Linked DNA regions of Homo sapiens: region 2 is linked to region 1. Evidence: promoter capture Hi-C in human tissues and cell types (Jung and others, 2019). All regions are on one chromosome and are shown on one strand. The core of a region is centred on a gene start or on the middle of the fragment in contact, and the rest is flanking DNA. Distances in the headings are between cores, read along the strand shown. Region 1 holds the start of SLC7A2 (solute carrier family 7 member 2). Region 2 has its middle 23 kb from the start of MTMR7.

The links. The method cuts DNA at HindIII sites, captures the fragments that hold promoters and counts their contacts. A contact is called where the count stands out against the background at its distance.
Region 2: a fragment that was not itself captured here is called in contact with the fragment with the promoter of SLC7A2 in region 1 in 2 of the 25 tissues and cell types used here (mesenchymal stem cells and thymus).

Annotation. Positions count from the first base shown.
Region 1 is chr8:17,492,178-17,499,789 of GRCh38, forward strand. SLC7A2 (solute carrier family 7 member 2) reads left to right here and starts at 4,911. Exons shown (of 13, transcript NM_001370338.1): 1 at 4,911-5,060. The HindIII fragment of the contact is 11,749 bases long and covers 1-7,612 here.
Region 2 is chr8:17,432,690-17,440,301 of GRCh38, forward strand. No RefSeq gene overlaps it. Among named protein-coding and RNA genes, the nearest start is that of MTMR7, 23 kb to the left of the region's middle. The HindIII fragment of the contact is 3,444 bases long and covers 1,188-4,631 here.

The DNA of each region.
Region 1 (7,612 bases), core at 3,661-6,160:
CCACAGTAAATCATAGTTATTTTTGTTAATATCAGGTATTTTGAGAGAGTCACCATATTCGTGTAACTTTCATTAGAGTATATTGTTATAATTATTCTATTTTATCATTAGTTATTGTTGTTATCTCTTACTGTGTCTAGTTTATAAATTAAACTTTATCACAGTACGTATGCATAGAAAAAAAATTGTACATATAGGGTTTGGTACTATCCGTGATTTCAGGCATCCACTGAGGGTCTTGGAACATATACCCCCCCGCGGATAAAAGGGGATTACCCCCTTACCCCCTCCTTTTTTTTTTTTTAGAGGCGGAGTCTCTCTCTTTCGCCCAGGCTGGAGTGCAGTGGCACGTTCTCTGTCGTTCTCTGCCCCAGCATGATGAGTGGTTTCTAATTTTTTTCTTTTGTAGAAAAGGAGGTAAAAATTACTCTCTCAGCCGGGTATGGAGGCTCACGCCTGTAATCCCAGCACTTTGGGAGGCCGAGGCGGGCAGATCACGAGGTCAGGAGATCGAGACCATCCTGGCTAACACGGTGAAACCCTGTCTGTACTAAAAATACAAAAAATTAGCCGGACGTGGTGGCCCGTGCCTGTAATACCAGCTATTCGGGAGGCTGAGACAGGAGAATCGCTTGAACCCAGGAGGCAGAGATTGCAGTGAGTTGAGAGTGCACCACTGCACTCCAGCCTGGGTGACAGAATGAGACTCCGTCTCAAAAAAAAAAAAAAAAAAAAAAGCATAACAACCTAGATTGTGAAGATTGATGGAGTTAAGAATGATTCAATAATTTAATCTTAAGAGTGCCTTAGTTAGCAAGCAAGACAAAAGGTTATTCAGGATAGTAGGAGGAAAACTAAGAGACCGTGGAAGCCAAGGAGGAGATAGTTTCGAGAAAGAAAGAAAGCAGGAGCGAGTTTGAGGCACAAGAGAACTGCGAAAGGTCCATTGCATATGATTAGGAAGAGATTTCTGGAGCAATTAGGACCCTCATCAAGGTTAAAGAAAAGAGAGGATTTAGATTATCTGAGCTCCCTCCTAAATCCCTGGTTTTCAGTCCTTAGAGCAACAGGCTAACTGATGTTTAGATTAAGAAAACTGACTTTTTCCAGCAGATAAGAGGCCCAGCAGGAATCCTGGCAGAAGGAATTAGAGACTAGCACGGGGCGGGTGGAGCTCAGGGCCATTCCTGATGAATGGCCAATGTAAAGAAACCCCAGAAAGACACCAAGTGACAGGAGGCAGGGAAATTTGTAGGAAGAGCAATGTAGAATGAAAATCATTGCAAAACGGTGATTTGGTCTTAGTTGAAAGACAAGTAGAAGAAGATGAATTTGAAAGACGACTTGTCATTTATATGGACTTGTTGTATTTTTTTTCCAACCATTTTTTCAATATTTTGTTGCTTGCCTTAAGGGATGGGCAGATATGGACTCTGTCCAGTGGAAAGTCACCTCTAGGTTTTTACACATTTTTGAAAGGCGAGTGGAGAACAGCGGTGGCCTGAAAGCTCTTAAAACTAGTGCTCTGGGTCGGGGCGGTGGCTCACGCCTTTAATCCCAGCACTTTGGGAGGTCGAGGTGGGCGGGATCACCTGACGTCAGGAGTTTGAGACCAGCCTGGGCAACGTGGTAAAACCCCGTCTCTACTGAAAATACAAAAAAATTAGCCAGGCGTGGTGGTGAGCGCCTGTAATCTCAGCTACTCCGGAGGCTGAGGCAGGAGAATCGCTTGAATCCGGGAGGCAGAGGTTGCTGTGATCTGAGATCGTGCCCTTGCACTCCAGCCTGGTGACAGAGGGAAACTCCGTCTCAAAAAACAAACAAATAGCTAGTGCTCTGACTCTGGTCCAACTCTTTTTCCCTTTTGAGTTGATTCAGTGACAGCACAAGCATTAGTATCCAGTATCCAACCATCTGAAAAAAATTGGAGGATTTTAGCTTGTCTTCGCTAAAATAGTTTGGGGAATAATAGAGTCACAAATTAGAACTAGTAAGAATCCATTCCTTCAGTCTTGCTAGTTGAAGTAAATCCCTTATTTGTGGACATGAGATTTACTTTAGGTTGTATTTGGCAAGTGTGGGAGTACAGGGTGTGGAATTTATTCAGCTACAAAAGTCCCTTAAAATTCCCCGCAATTTCATAAACCCTTAAGAGTTCAGACATGCAAGAATGTTTGTGAAATCTTTGGAAGATGACAACCTAGGCTACTCTCTCTGCTGAAAATGACTAAGTTGGATTTTCTGCTTCATTCCTAAGGAGGAAACTTGACGGCTGAAAGTGAAAAGTGATGGCAATAAACCAGGGAGCGTGAAATAGAAGGTGGGTGCAAATTTTACTCAACTGGGAAAAAGATGCTAATTCAACCCCGGGCAGCAAGAGAAAATGCAAATGAAGATGAAGTCAAAAGAGCTTAACCTGTTTCAAATATTTCATTTCTAAAAATTCGATTCTATTTTCTCTTGTCTCATAGTCTGTCTTAAGAGACTCATACTAAATCCGTGGGCATCCTATTCTTTCCTCATCTAAACACATTTTTAAAGGTGAGAAATAACCAAAGTTATGAGGCAGGATTCAGGGTTAATCAATAATTTCAAACACGAAATGGAATATGTTAAGTCAAGAACTAGTGTGTAAAGATATTCAGCAATCTTGTTAGAAAGTTGTTTGAAAGAATTTGCTCTTTTTTTGCTTAGAGATGAAGTTGTTGTTCTTATTCACACACATGAACACAGCACGTTCTTGCTTCAGGAAGTGCGCCGGCGGGCAGATTGGATAAATTCAAAGATCGGTATTCTGACAAAATTGGCAGTTTCCAAATTCCAGATAAATTTGTTTATCCCAAATCATTGTGTTGTAACTTAATCACAAATTAAACAGATTTAAACACAGAGCCTTTAAGTAAAAATATGTGGGGAAATAATTGCTTAAGTTTAAAAATAGGAATCTCTATTTTTTTATTTTTTCTTTCTTTATTTTAATCAATGTTGACCAGGTTGGCCTCGAACGTGTAGCCTCGCCTCCTCGAGTGCCAGGGCAACCGCCCTGAGCCACCGCGACTCCCAGGAATCTCTATTTTTTTTAAACCAGGTGAAAAATGTTAGACCAGATTACTCACCCTTAAAAATTAGACAAAGTATCTGAGTCATCGCTCCCTTGAACAACGCCTCCTAGCCGTGGGATTGAGGAGGAATCTGGTGTTAAAAGTCCACACGCATCATTTCCCTTAATGTTATTAATGATAATTTGCATAAGGAATCTTTTTTTGACTGTAAAAATAAGTTTACTTTGACAGTCTCTATTACTTAAGACATTTGGTCTATCAGATAATATCTTCGTAATCATAGTGCTGTTTAAACTTTCAGTTTTTTTGTTCGTTTGCTTTTGTTTTTGAGACGGAATCTCACTCTGTCGCCCAGGCTGGACTGTAGTGGCACTATCTCGGCTCACTGCAACCTCCGCCTCCTGGGCTCAAGCGATTCTCCTGCCTCAACCTCCCGAGTAGCTGGGGTTACAGGCGCCCGCCGCCGCGCCCGGCTAATTTTTGTATTTTTAGTAGAGACGGAGTTTCACCCTGTTGGCCAGACTGGTCTCGAACTCCTGACCTCAGGTGATCGGCGCGCCTCGGCGTCCCAAAGTGCTGGGATTACAGGCGTGAGCCACCACCCCCAGCCTACACTTTCACTTTTTGATGAAATCCATGGATGGCTTCCTGAGATACATTGAGATTTTGTGTGTGTGCTATCTTCTGGAATGAAGCCCCACACCGTTTATTAGATGATCTTGGGGATATATGTCTTGAAGGGAAGAATGATTTAGAATATCACATTAAAATTGTATATGTACTGTGAGGCAGCAATACAAATCTGGCACTTTGCCAAAGTTATTACTAGTAGGTGGGTTAAAGGGACGTTTACTCCAATACTATGCAAAGTAAAGTGGACCTTTCTGTCAAACAAAAATAGTAATAGGCCGGGCATGGTGGCTCAAGCCTGTAATTCTCAGCCTGGTGGCTCAAGCCTGTAGTTGTCAGCACTTTGGGAGGCTGAGGCGGGAGGATAGCTTGAGCCCAGGAGGTCGAGGCTGCAGTGAGCCACGATTGTGTCACTGCCCTCCAGCCTGGGCGACAGAGTGAGACCCTGTCTCTAAAGACAAACCACACACACATATACACACACACACTGACACACACTTATTGTTCAATTCAGTGCGTGTTTTGCTTCGTTTTGGATGAAAATTAACAGGCTTTCACATTGTGACTTAATCTTATCAGAGACTCCTAAAGTAAACAATAGCGCAGTAGGAGAAACCCTGATTGTGTAACTTCTGCTCTTGCTCCCCTGGAAATAATGTCATTTCCTATAAACCCACCCCCAAACAATCGTGACTACGTATTCATACCACTGGAGTCTTCCAAAATAGCAACTGCACATTATTTATCAACGTTTAGTTTGCATTTGACAAAGCACATCCACCTGGGCTTCCATTTATCATTGCTATTATTATATTTTATTATTATTTTCTTATTTCCAAAATCTTTGTAGAATGGAAAGTAAACGGGGGGACCAAAACCCCACTTAGAACTCTGCTTAGAAGATTCGGAAATGCCCTTGAGGTTTGGTCCTCCCAGGAGAGCACGAAGTTTATCCTCGCGCGCAGCCTCTCTTCCCCGGCCCGCGCCCACCGGCCTAGCCCGGGGCTAGCGCCCGCCCACGTGTGCTCGGCTCCAGGCAAACCCCGCTGAGCAGCGGCCGCACACCGCCCACCCCGGGGATTGGTCAGCGCGGCCGGGGCCCGGCGGGAGGCGGGCTCGGGGTCGCGTTCCGGGAGCGCGGAGGAGGCGGTGCCGCCCGGCCCCGCGCCCCGCCCCCGCCCCGGGTGGCTACACAGAGGGGCGCCCACGTGCCCAGCCCTCCTTCTGCAGCGCGGCCGGCGGGCGCTCCTCTTCGCGGGACCAGCGAGGCGGCGGCCGCTGCTCCAGCGTCCCCCAGCCGCGGGCCCCCGACGCGCTGCAGCCGGCAGCCCACCGCCGCCTTCTTGGCGCGACCCCAACCCAGCCCCAGTAAGTTGCTAGGTCTCCAGCCCCGCCGAGAGGCCGCGGGCGAGGGGCAGCCCGGACGCTGGGGCCGGCGGGGAAGGAGCGGGGCGAGGGCGCCCTGGGGCCGGCGGGGAACTAGAGGGTCGAGGGCTCCCGGGGACGAGTCCAGCTGCGCGCAGCTGCCCTGAGGCCGCGCTCCAGCGAGTCTTCGTCAGGGAGTCGGGGCCGTGGGCTGGGGCTGAAGCCGTGGACCTTCGTCCTCGGGGCTGCGCCCCGGAATGCGCCTCGCCTCGTCCGGTCCCTGTGCAGCCGGCTCTGCCCGGGGACTTCGGGGACCGCTGGAACTGGGAGAGGGGCTGGCACGGCGACTTCGCGGGGACCCTTCAGTCACTATTTCCAGAGGAGCTCGGCGCACCCCTCTCCGGGTGGGCAGGCTGAACCTCCTGGCCCTGCACGCTGCCGGGGTCCCCGAAGCCGCCTTCGCTCCTTTTCGGTTCTTGGCTTAAATTAGAAAGCCGGCTTGGAGCGCTGGAAGCCCCTTCACATTCTGCAGGGGACCTGGTAAAATAGCCCGTCTTGGTGTTTGTATTGGGTATTTTAAAGTAACTGGGTGCCTTTTAAAATCCGTTTGAGATGGGCTGTATTTTATAAGCCCGTTTCATGAAACGCTGTTCTTGAGGCTTAGAGAATCTCCCAACCCATCACCCCAGAGTACCTGTCCGTTCAGAAAGTACCTTTTCATCCTCTTTTGACGCTTACATCCAGTCTATGGAGTAAGGTATTGAGAGATTGTCATCTTCAACTCGTCGAAAAGAAATATGCTCAGCAAAAGCCACAATCATATGTGGCTTTTGAAGTGGATATAGTGCCTGGATTTCAAGAGAAAAAGTACTCAGCCTCTTCAGAGTTGTAAATATTTGTGCAAAACTGGCTAAAGCCTTTAGGTGACTAATTTTGGACCAGTAATAAGATTTATCTAGACGTTTGTGCAGAAACACTAATCCTTTTAATGAGAGGATATCGTCAGATCTTATTCAAATAAGAGCTCTCTGAATCCCATCCAGGGCCGCCTGGGTTATAAAATTAGAATGTATGTGGCCTTGACTTGATACTTTTTCATTCTTGCCTGAGCTAGTCTTTAAAAGTTAATAATTATCTCCTCCGGAAGGTGAAACATTCTGTGTTTGTAATCTTTCTCTAGGAGATGTATAAGATGTGAATATTCTGTATTATGTACCTTGTTAGGATTGCTTTGTAATTAGTAAATCCTTTTTTATTTTAATTGCACTGAAGCGTGACATGAAATGATCTCTCAGTGCAGAACACAGGACTTCTTCCCTCTCCTTTTCCTACAAAGTTGCTAGTTGCCTGCTCTGGGAGGCCACTTTATTGTGATTTTTCAAGTTTCTTCCCTCGGCCCACACTTTGTTTACATTCTGTGCCTTCATCTGGGAATGGTCATTTACCTTAAGGCATTTTAATCTTTTAGGGTGTGCCATGGCCTTGGAGACCAGAGTAAAGCGCTGTGGTATCTGCGGGGATCAGTTTGCAGAATCCTTGGCCTCCTAAGCAGTGGGCATAGCTCTTTTCATTCCAGAATCTCTGATCATTCCAGAGTCTCTCCTGTCACTGGGCTTAGGAGCCTGGGAAGGCGAATAGAAGCTAGCTGGGGAGACAGGGGAGCTGTGGCAGTTTAAAAAGCCTGATCTTGCGCTGGAGTTTTTCATCTTGCATTCTCATGTATCTTTGCCTTTTGAACACATGTGCCTGAAGAATTTTAAAGTTCACGTTTCTTGCTTTGCACTGCAAGCACACTCACCTTTGCAGAGTGGAAGTGCCTTGTCCCCATTCTAGGTGGTCTACCTTCTGTTCTCTTTTCAGACCTCCTGGCTTAAGCCCTTGTTTCTCCTGGCTGTTATGGCCAGACCCGGAGTCCCCGTTGTGCCCATTTCTTCTCTTTTCAGTCCTTCCTTTTCAAATGTTTTTTCCCAGAAGTCCTCTGGCAACTTCTCTATTTCACCTAGCCTCTGTCTTCTCTTGTTTTATTTTTCCCTCTCTCCCTCCCTCTCTATCCCTCTTTCCCCCTCTTTCCCTCCTTCTCCCTCCTTTCTCTCTTCCTCTCTCTCTGTCTCTCTCTCTCTCTCCCCCTCTCTCCCTCATTTCTCTCTCCCTCTCTCTGTCCCTCTTCCCTCCATTCTCTCTCCCCCCTTCTCTCTCTGTGTGTTCAGAGCCATCTGCTGGTTTTACTTTGGTGCCCTTTGGTGGACAACTTTCAGAACAGAATCTTGGGAGCACCTTCATGTTGCTGTTTGCTTTATTTCCCCCAAACATGTAGATATGAACACACTGATTTTAAAGACTCTTATAGACTACCTACTAGATGCCAAACATTTAGAACAAAAGCAAAAGCTTTCAGTGGAATATATTTCTAAATACTCACATATTTAGTTTTGGGTGCATCATTTGAATGCTTTGTCATCCAAATGAATCCTGAAAAACTTAGTTAACTAAGATTTCACTTAAGTGATAGCACTTGTCTAAATGGGCTTGAAAATCGAAGCTGTTAATTAATTTCT
Region 2 (7,612 bases), core at 1,660-4,159, 61 kb before region 1:
TATATGATATATATGAAACTAATATATCCTATTGGTTCTGTTTCTCTGGAGAACCCTGTCTAATACACTTATCCTATCCTCTTTCAGACAATGCCAAAGTATTCATTCATAGCAACGCATCTACACAGATGTCCAGTGATACCACTTGCCTGGAAGGTCAGCAAACCAGACATTGATTGATTACCAATTGAGGCCCTTGAGAGCACTAATTTATATTGTAGATAATGAGTAACAGGTGGTATTAGGTGAGTCAGGATATCAGTTTCCATTTCTCTTGTCTAGGTCCCTACGACAGCATTGCTGAAGAGATGCCTCCTGTCCTGGTCCTGTTTCACGTTGTTCTTTCCCCAGCCAGGGCACACTGGATTCTTCAGGAACTTTCCTACCACCACAATTCCTACTTCTGCTATGACTAGTATAATTACCTAATATTTTTTGGCCATTTCTTATTTAACCCAGATGTCACCAAGGAAATCTTCACTCTGAGACAGAATGAGCTTGAGTGCACAGTCTATACTACAGGTAAGTCCACATGTCTGCAGATTTTTAGATGTGTGTGGGGGAGCTTATATGCTCAAGGTCAATGTGGGCTCCAGGTTTCCATTGCTGCTCTTCTGTACTATGTCATCTCAGACTTACACCCAAGCTTTTTTCTAGATTTCCAATAAAAGACCATTCAAACCAAATATTTGCAAAAATATAGACTATACTGAAGATGTTTAGGTTCCATAGAAGGGTCACTTCATCCCACACAGTAATACCAACCTAAAAACACATATTAGTGTAGTGAATAATGTTTGAAATGCCAGTTAAAGTTTTCCTTCCTTATGTTTCCTTTGATCGTCCCCTTTCTTCTCACTGGTCCGGCACCTGTAACATCTTTCATCTACACTGTAGTCAGAGAGAAGCTACAGACAAAAAGCCTTGGAACAGCAGAGACTTGAGCTGAGAGCCACAGCACCTGAAGAGGAAAACATTTTCTGAATTCCAAAAACATGGCTTTTATTATCAAGAGCCAATGCCTGAAGGCAGAAGACACAATGTTTACACATAAACAATCCCTGCGAAGGAGAAAGATGAAGAGCCCGTTTCCAGCCACACAAGAAGATAAAATATTTTGCTTGAATTGGGGAAAGAACTTGAAAGAGGAGAGGAGAACAAAAGAGTGAGTTTGCCTGTGTCTGTGACCCCTGGTTCCACCTCCCCCCAGGCCATGTTGAAGTGGGGAAGAAAACTGCAAATCTAATACAGGTTTACGGAAGCCAACACAAAAAAGGACTTGGCCTTCCTTCTCAGTAGATAAACCTGGGAAGACTGTGAGTTTCAGGGAGAAACTCAGCATCCATCCCGGCCAGCAAATTCTGAGTGAGACACCCTGACAGCTGGCCTCATGGACCTCCAGGGTGATAAGGGGACAGTGGCAGAATGTTGCTTGTGGACCCTGAGAGGAGGATGGGGATGACACCTAGACTAGTGGACATTGATAGGGTTTGGATGTGTGTTCCCTCCAAGTCTCATGTTGAAATGAGATTTCCAGTGTTAGAGGTGGGCCATGAGGGTGGATCCCTCAAGAATGGCCTCCCCCTGGTCATGAATGAGTTCTTGCTCTCTTAGCTCACGCAACAGCTGGTTGTTTAAAGGAGCCTGTCACCTCCTGCTCTCTCTATTGCTCCCTCTCTCGCTATATGACACGCCAGCTCCCCCTTCACCTTGCGCCCTGAGTAAAAGCTTCCTGAGGCCTCACCAGAAGCTGAGCAAATGCCAGTGCCATGCTTTCTGTACAGCTTGCAGAACCATGAGCCAAATAAACATCTTTTCTTTATAAATTACCCAGCCTCAGGAATTCCTTTATAGCAATGTAAAACAGACTAATAGAGATGTGAAGGAGTCTGATTTCTATGCCCCAGCGAGGAGGACACAGGTGGTTTGCATGGAACAGGTAATCAGAGTCCTTGGGAGAACAGTGGTCATTTTGGCATAAGCAGTGGGTCATGCACCCAGAGGCCTGGGGGGACAAGTTTCAGCTCAGTAGCAGCCAGAGAAAGATAAAAGACGACTGGGGATAAACCATTCTCTTCCCTGACATGGATGACAGTTAAAATCCTTTCCTTCTGGTACTTACATCACCTCCTGGGCAGGAGGGAGAAAAGAGCTGAGGAAGAAGTGGACTTGATTGTGAAGACAGCAATTATTCGCTGACTTTTAAATCCTAAGTGTCTGAGCTGACCTTTACTCAGATTACTTTTGTCACTACCAAGCGGAAAGGGTCACTCGAAATCTAGTTCAATTGCAGAGAAACGAAGAGTTTCCATTTTGCATACCTCTGCAACATAGGGGGAAATCTATGACATTTTCACCCCCAACATCTGGCATTCAGCTGTTGGAGGTGTTCTTGCACTCACCCTTGGGGGTTTCTCACTGGCCCTCACTGGGCCTTCCCTCTCACTGGCTTTCCTTTCTCTCTTTTTTTTTTGAGATGGAGTCTCACACTGTCGTCTGGGCTGGAGTGCAATGGTGCGATGTTGGCTCACTGCAACCTCTGCCTCCCAGGTTCACCCAATTCTCCTGCCTCAGCCTCCTGAGTAGCTGGAATTACAGGTGCACACCACCACAACCAGCTAATTTTTTTGTATTTTAGTAGAGACGGGGTTTCACTTTGTTGCCCAGGCTGGTCTCAAACTCCTGACCTCGTGATCCACCTGCCTCAGCCTCCCAAAGTGCTGGGATTACAGGCGTGAGCCACCATGCCCAGCCTCACTGGCTTTTTCTACTGATACTCACTTCTCTGCTCCTTTCCCACCAAGACTGCCTTGGGAACTCCACATTCTGCTTCTTATTATTTATTTATTTATTATTATTATTATTTTTTGACACGGAGTCGCGCTCTGTTGCCCAGGCTGGAGTGCAGTGGCACCATCTCAGCTCACTGCAAGCTCCGCCTCCTGGGTTCACGCCATTCTCCTGCCTCAGCCTCCCAAGTAGCTGGGACTACAGGCGCCTGCCACCACGCCCGGCTAATTTTTGGTATTTTTACTAGAGACGGGGTTCTGCTTCTTTAATGTGCAGAGCAAGTCAACGCTTCCCAGCTCGTGCTCTCACACAAACCTGTTAAGGCTCCAGCAGCATGAAGAGCCTTCCACTGAAAAGAATCCTTTCTAGAAGCCAGTCAGGGTTATGAATGGCATCTTTCTTCTATTACAATGAAGTACCAGTAATGCGCTAGTTGCTTTACTTACTTCATCTCACAACACCACAAATAAGAAAACTGGGGTGGCCCAGAAAGAAAATGAAAGAAGAGATAGGTAAGAAATTGTGCAGTCCCCACTCAACCCTGGTCTCCCTGTCCCCAAATCCTGCACCACTAGCCACCGTATGGCAAAAATTCCTGGACTTTGCTTATGTACTTGCTTAACAACCTTGAGGGTTAAGTCTTGATCATCTTACTTCTTCTGAAGGCTTGAATTCCTTCCAATCTGCTTCACCTGATTGACTGGTTAATGAAAGAGCTGATGTCTGCTTGGCTCTGTCCCCACATCTGAAGTGCTCATTATCTGCCTTCTCACTTTGGCAACTTTCTCAATAGTACAAACAGCCTCCGTGTCTTCTGAGGCCCGAGGGAATCTTTTAATTACCTTTTGATGAGGATAGTCACTTCCCGCCCTGAGTTTAAAGTGAAATTTGATCATGAATATTTCCTGTCCGTCTCTCTCAGGAGCAGTAGCTAACGGGTGGTATTAGTGTTTAAGCATTTATGTTCACCTCCCTCCATGGGCTACCAGGATCACCCAAGGCAGTAATACTGCAACCTCCTTTGAGAAAATGCCTCAAAAAGGGAGTTTAGACTAGTTCTCAACTAATAGTCTCATAAAATGGAGGGAAAAGAGAGGATTGTGTAGACAGGTAGAACCACACAAAATACTTTGCCCTAGACTAAAAAATTATGTGTTTGGAAATGCCTAAGATCTCATGAAAAGTAGACACTTCAGATATTTTCTAATTTCTAAATAGACTGAAGAGAAGAATATATTGCATTTTACCTTGATAAACTAATGATCACTACAAATTTCACATACTTTAATATAGTTTCACTGAAAAGTTAAGAAATTTTTTGAGATTTATTGAAAACAGTCATAACTAGAAAAATAACTTATCTTCCATGATTTGATAAATTGTGCTGCAATAATAACCAAGCAGTCACATTCCTTTAACTTAAATCCAACCTGATGAATTTCTCTGTTTTTGAAAACATTTTGTTTATCCCAGAAATGCAGGTTGGTTTAAAAATAACAAATCGATTTAATTCATCATATTGTCCAACTAATGAAACCTCCATATTGTCATCTCAATAGATATAGAAAAATTGTTTGACAACATTCGGCATTCATTCCTGATTTAAAAATAAAAATAAATAAATAAATAAACTAACTCTCAGCTAATTATGAATAGAAGGGAACTTCCTCTATCTGATAAAGTAATCCACAAGAAAACTACAGTTAACATACACAATGATGAAAGACTGAAAGCTTTCCCAATATCAGAAACAAGTCAAGGACGTCCAATGCCACTACTACTATTTGACATTGTACTGGATGGTCTAGCCAATGCCGTAGCAAGTATAAGAATTTGAAGACATCCAAACTGAAAAGGAAGGAGTAAATCTATCTTTACTTCCAAAAGACATGGCTCCATACACAGAAAATCTGATGGACTCTACAAAAGCTATTAGAACTAATAAGTAAGCTTAGCAAGGATGTAGGATACAAGATCAACACAAAAAAATAAGTTATGTTTCTATATGTTAGCAAATAACAACTGGAAATTGGAAATTTTTTAAATGCCATTAATAACATTAAAAATATGAAATAAGGATAAATCTAACAAAAAAGTATAACCCTTGTACACAGCAAACTATAAACATTGCTGAGATAAATTAAAGAAACCCAAAATAAATGGAGTTGTATTATCTTCATGGATTGAAGGATTCAATATTATTATGATGTACTCCACATATAGGACATACAGTGCAATCCTAGTCAAAATTCTAGCAGGCTGTTTTTGTAGAACTGACAAACTGATTTGACAATATGGAAATGCAAAGAACCTAGAATACCCAAAATAATTTTGAAAAATAAGAACCACTTTATACTAACCAATATACTGTCCAAAGAGAGACAGACAGGAAATATTCATGATCAAATTTCACTTTAATATACTGCACAATATACTACCAAACTGCAAGACTTACAAAGTTGCAGTAACCTAGACAACGTAGTTTTGACTTCAGACCAGTTATATGAGAGTAACTAAATAAAACGGAGGCTAGAAACAGACCTGCGCATGTATGGTCAATTGGTTTTCAACAAAAGTACAAGAACAATTCAGTGGTAACAGGAGAGTCATTTCAACTACAGTGTTAGAAAAGTTAATTTTTGAATGCAAAAAAACCAAACAACCATGATCTGTACTTCACACCAATCAAAAATTAACTCAGATTATAGATGTAAATGTGAAACCTAAAACTATAAAGCTTCCAGAAGTAAACATAGGAGAAAATCTATGTGACCTTGGACTAAGTGAAATTTTCTTGTCTGTAACACCAAAAGCACAATGCACTAAAACATCATATATTGGGCTTCATCAAAGTCAAGAAATTCTACTCTTTCAAAAACATCTTAACAGATTAAAAAGACAAGCCACTGACTGGAAGAAAATATTTACAAATCACACATCTGTTAAAAGACTCATGTCCAGAACTTGTATATAAAGTACTCTCAAAACTCAATAATAGGAAAACAAACCCCAGTTTTAAAGATGGGCAAAATACCTGAACAGAAACTTCACCAAAATTCGTATAAGCTAGCTTGCAGTGTCTCATGCCTGTTATCCCAGCACTTTGACAGGCTGAGGTGGGAGGATCGCTATAGCCCAGGAGCTCAAGACCAGCCTGAGGAACACAGCAAGACCCCATCTCTACTAAAAATGAAAAAAAAAAAAAAAATGGCCAGGCATGGTGGCACATGCCTGTAATCCCACCTACATGGGAGGCTGAGGTGGGAGGATCCCTTGAACCCAGAAGTTTGAGGCTGCAGCGAGCCGTGATTGTACCATTGCACTCCAGCCTGGTGATTCATTATCTTGACTGTGGCAAAGATTTCCTGTATGTCAAAACCTATCAAATTCACACTTTGAACACGGCGTTAGTGTATGTCAATTATACTTCAGTAAAGCTGTTATGCAAAAACCTTTTTGTTATTTTAATTTATTCACTTGAGAAAGATCTGGATTATTTCTTTTTTTTTTAATTTTTATTTATTTATTTATTTATTGAGATGGAGTCTCACTCTCTTGCGTAGGCTGGAGTGAAGTTGCGTCATCTCAGCTTACTGCACTTTCCGCCTCCTGGGTTCAAGCGTTTCTCGTGCCTCAGCCTCCTGAGTAGCTAGGATTACAGGCGCCCGCCGCGACGCCCAGTTAATTTTTTTTTTTTTTTTTTTTTGTATTTTTAGTAGAGACAGGGTTTCACCATGTTGGTCAGGCTGGTCTTGAACTCCTGACCTCAGGTGATCCACCTGCCTAGTTCTCCCAAAGTGCTACAATTACAGGCGTGAGCCACCACACCCAGCCTATTTCTATATCCTGTATTTTAAAATCCAAAACTGAGTTACTTTTGGAAGTTCTTTAAGCAGCAATTTTAAAAGAACATTTACACACTATTTATTTATTTATTTATTTATTTATTTATTATTATTATTATTTTGTAGAGATGGAGTCTCACTCTCTCGCCCAGGCTGGAGTGCAGTGGTGTGATCTCGGCTCACTGCAAGTTCCACCTCCTGGGTTAAAGCAATTCTCGTGCCTCAGCCTCCAGAGTAGCTGGGACTACAGGCGTACGCCACCACGCTCAGCTAATTTCTTTTGTATTTTAGTAGACACCGGGTTTCACCATGTTGCCCAGGCTGGTCTCTAACTCTTGAGCTCAGGCAATCCCCCCGCCTTGGCCTCCCAAAGTGCTAGGATTACAGGCATGAGGATTGTTTACACATTTTAATGGTCTGACTGAAGAAGTAAAACTGTACAGTAAAGTCTTTAGATGGCAAATCTGTGTCAACAAGGGTCTGATATCATTCAGTGAAACCTGGTGCTATGTAGCGTTCCATGGGTGAAATGTTCAAAGGCTTTGTCTTTAGGGGCTCAGGAGATTTACACATTCCAGAGAGGATGGGATCTCAAGGAAAACCCAGATAGGAGAACATGGTGCTGGTAGCTTGGAATATTGGAGCGGAAATAGTGCCTTGGCAGTATTCGTTACAAGTCTTCTTGGAGTTGACTGTCCTCACCCACCCACTTGCACAGAGCGAGGGGCACTGTCTTACCAAGGGCATGTTTGCTTGGCTCTTCTAATTTGTGAAAAGACAACCACAAAGCCCTGTGCTAGAGCATGCAAAGATCACAACTCAGAGACCCCTGGTGTCCTCTGTCTGCTTGAGAAGCTGACAAGAGCAAAAGGGTTCAAGGTGATCCAAGTGTGTGTTGTGGGATTGATTTTTGTGTTTCTGCCAATTTCAATAACAGATTCAATGTGATGGTTGAACTGGCAATGTTGGCATGCAAA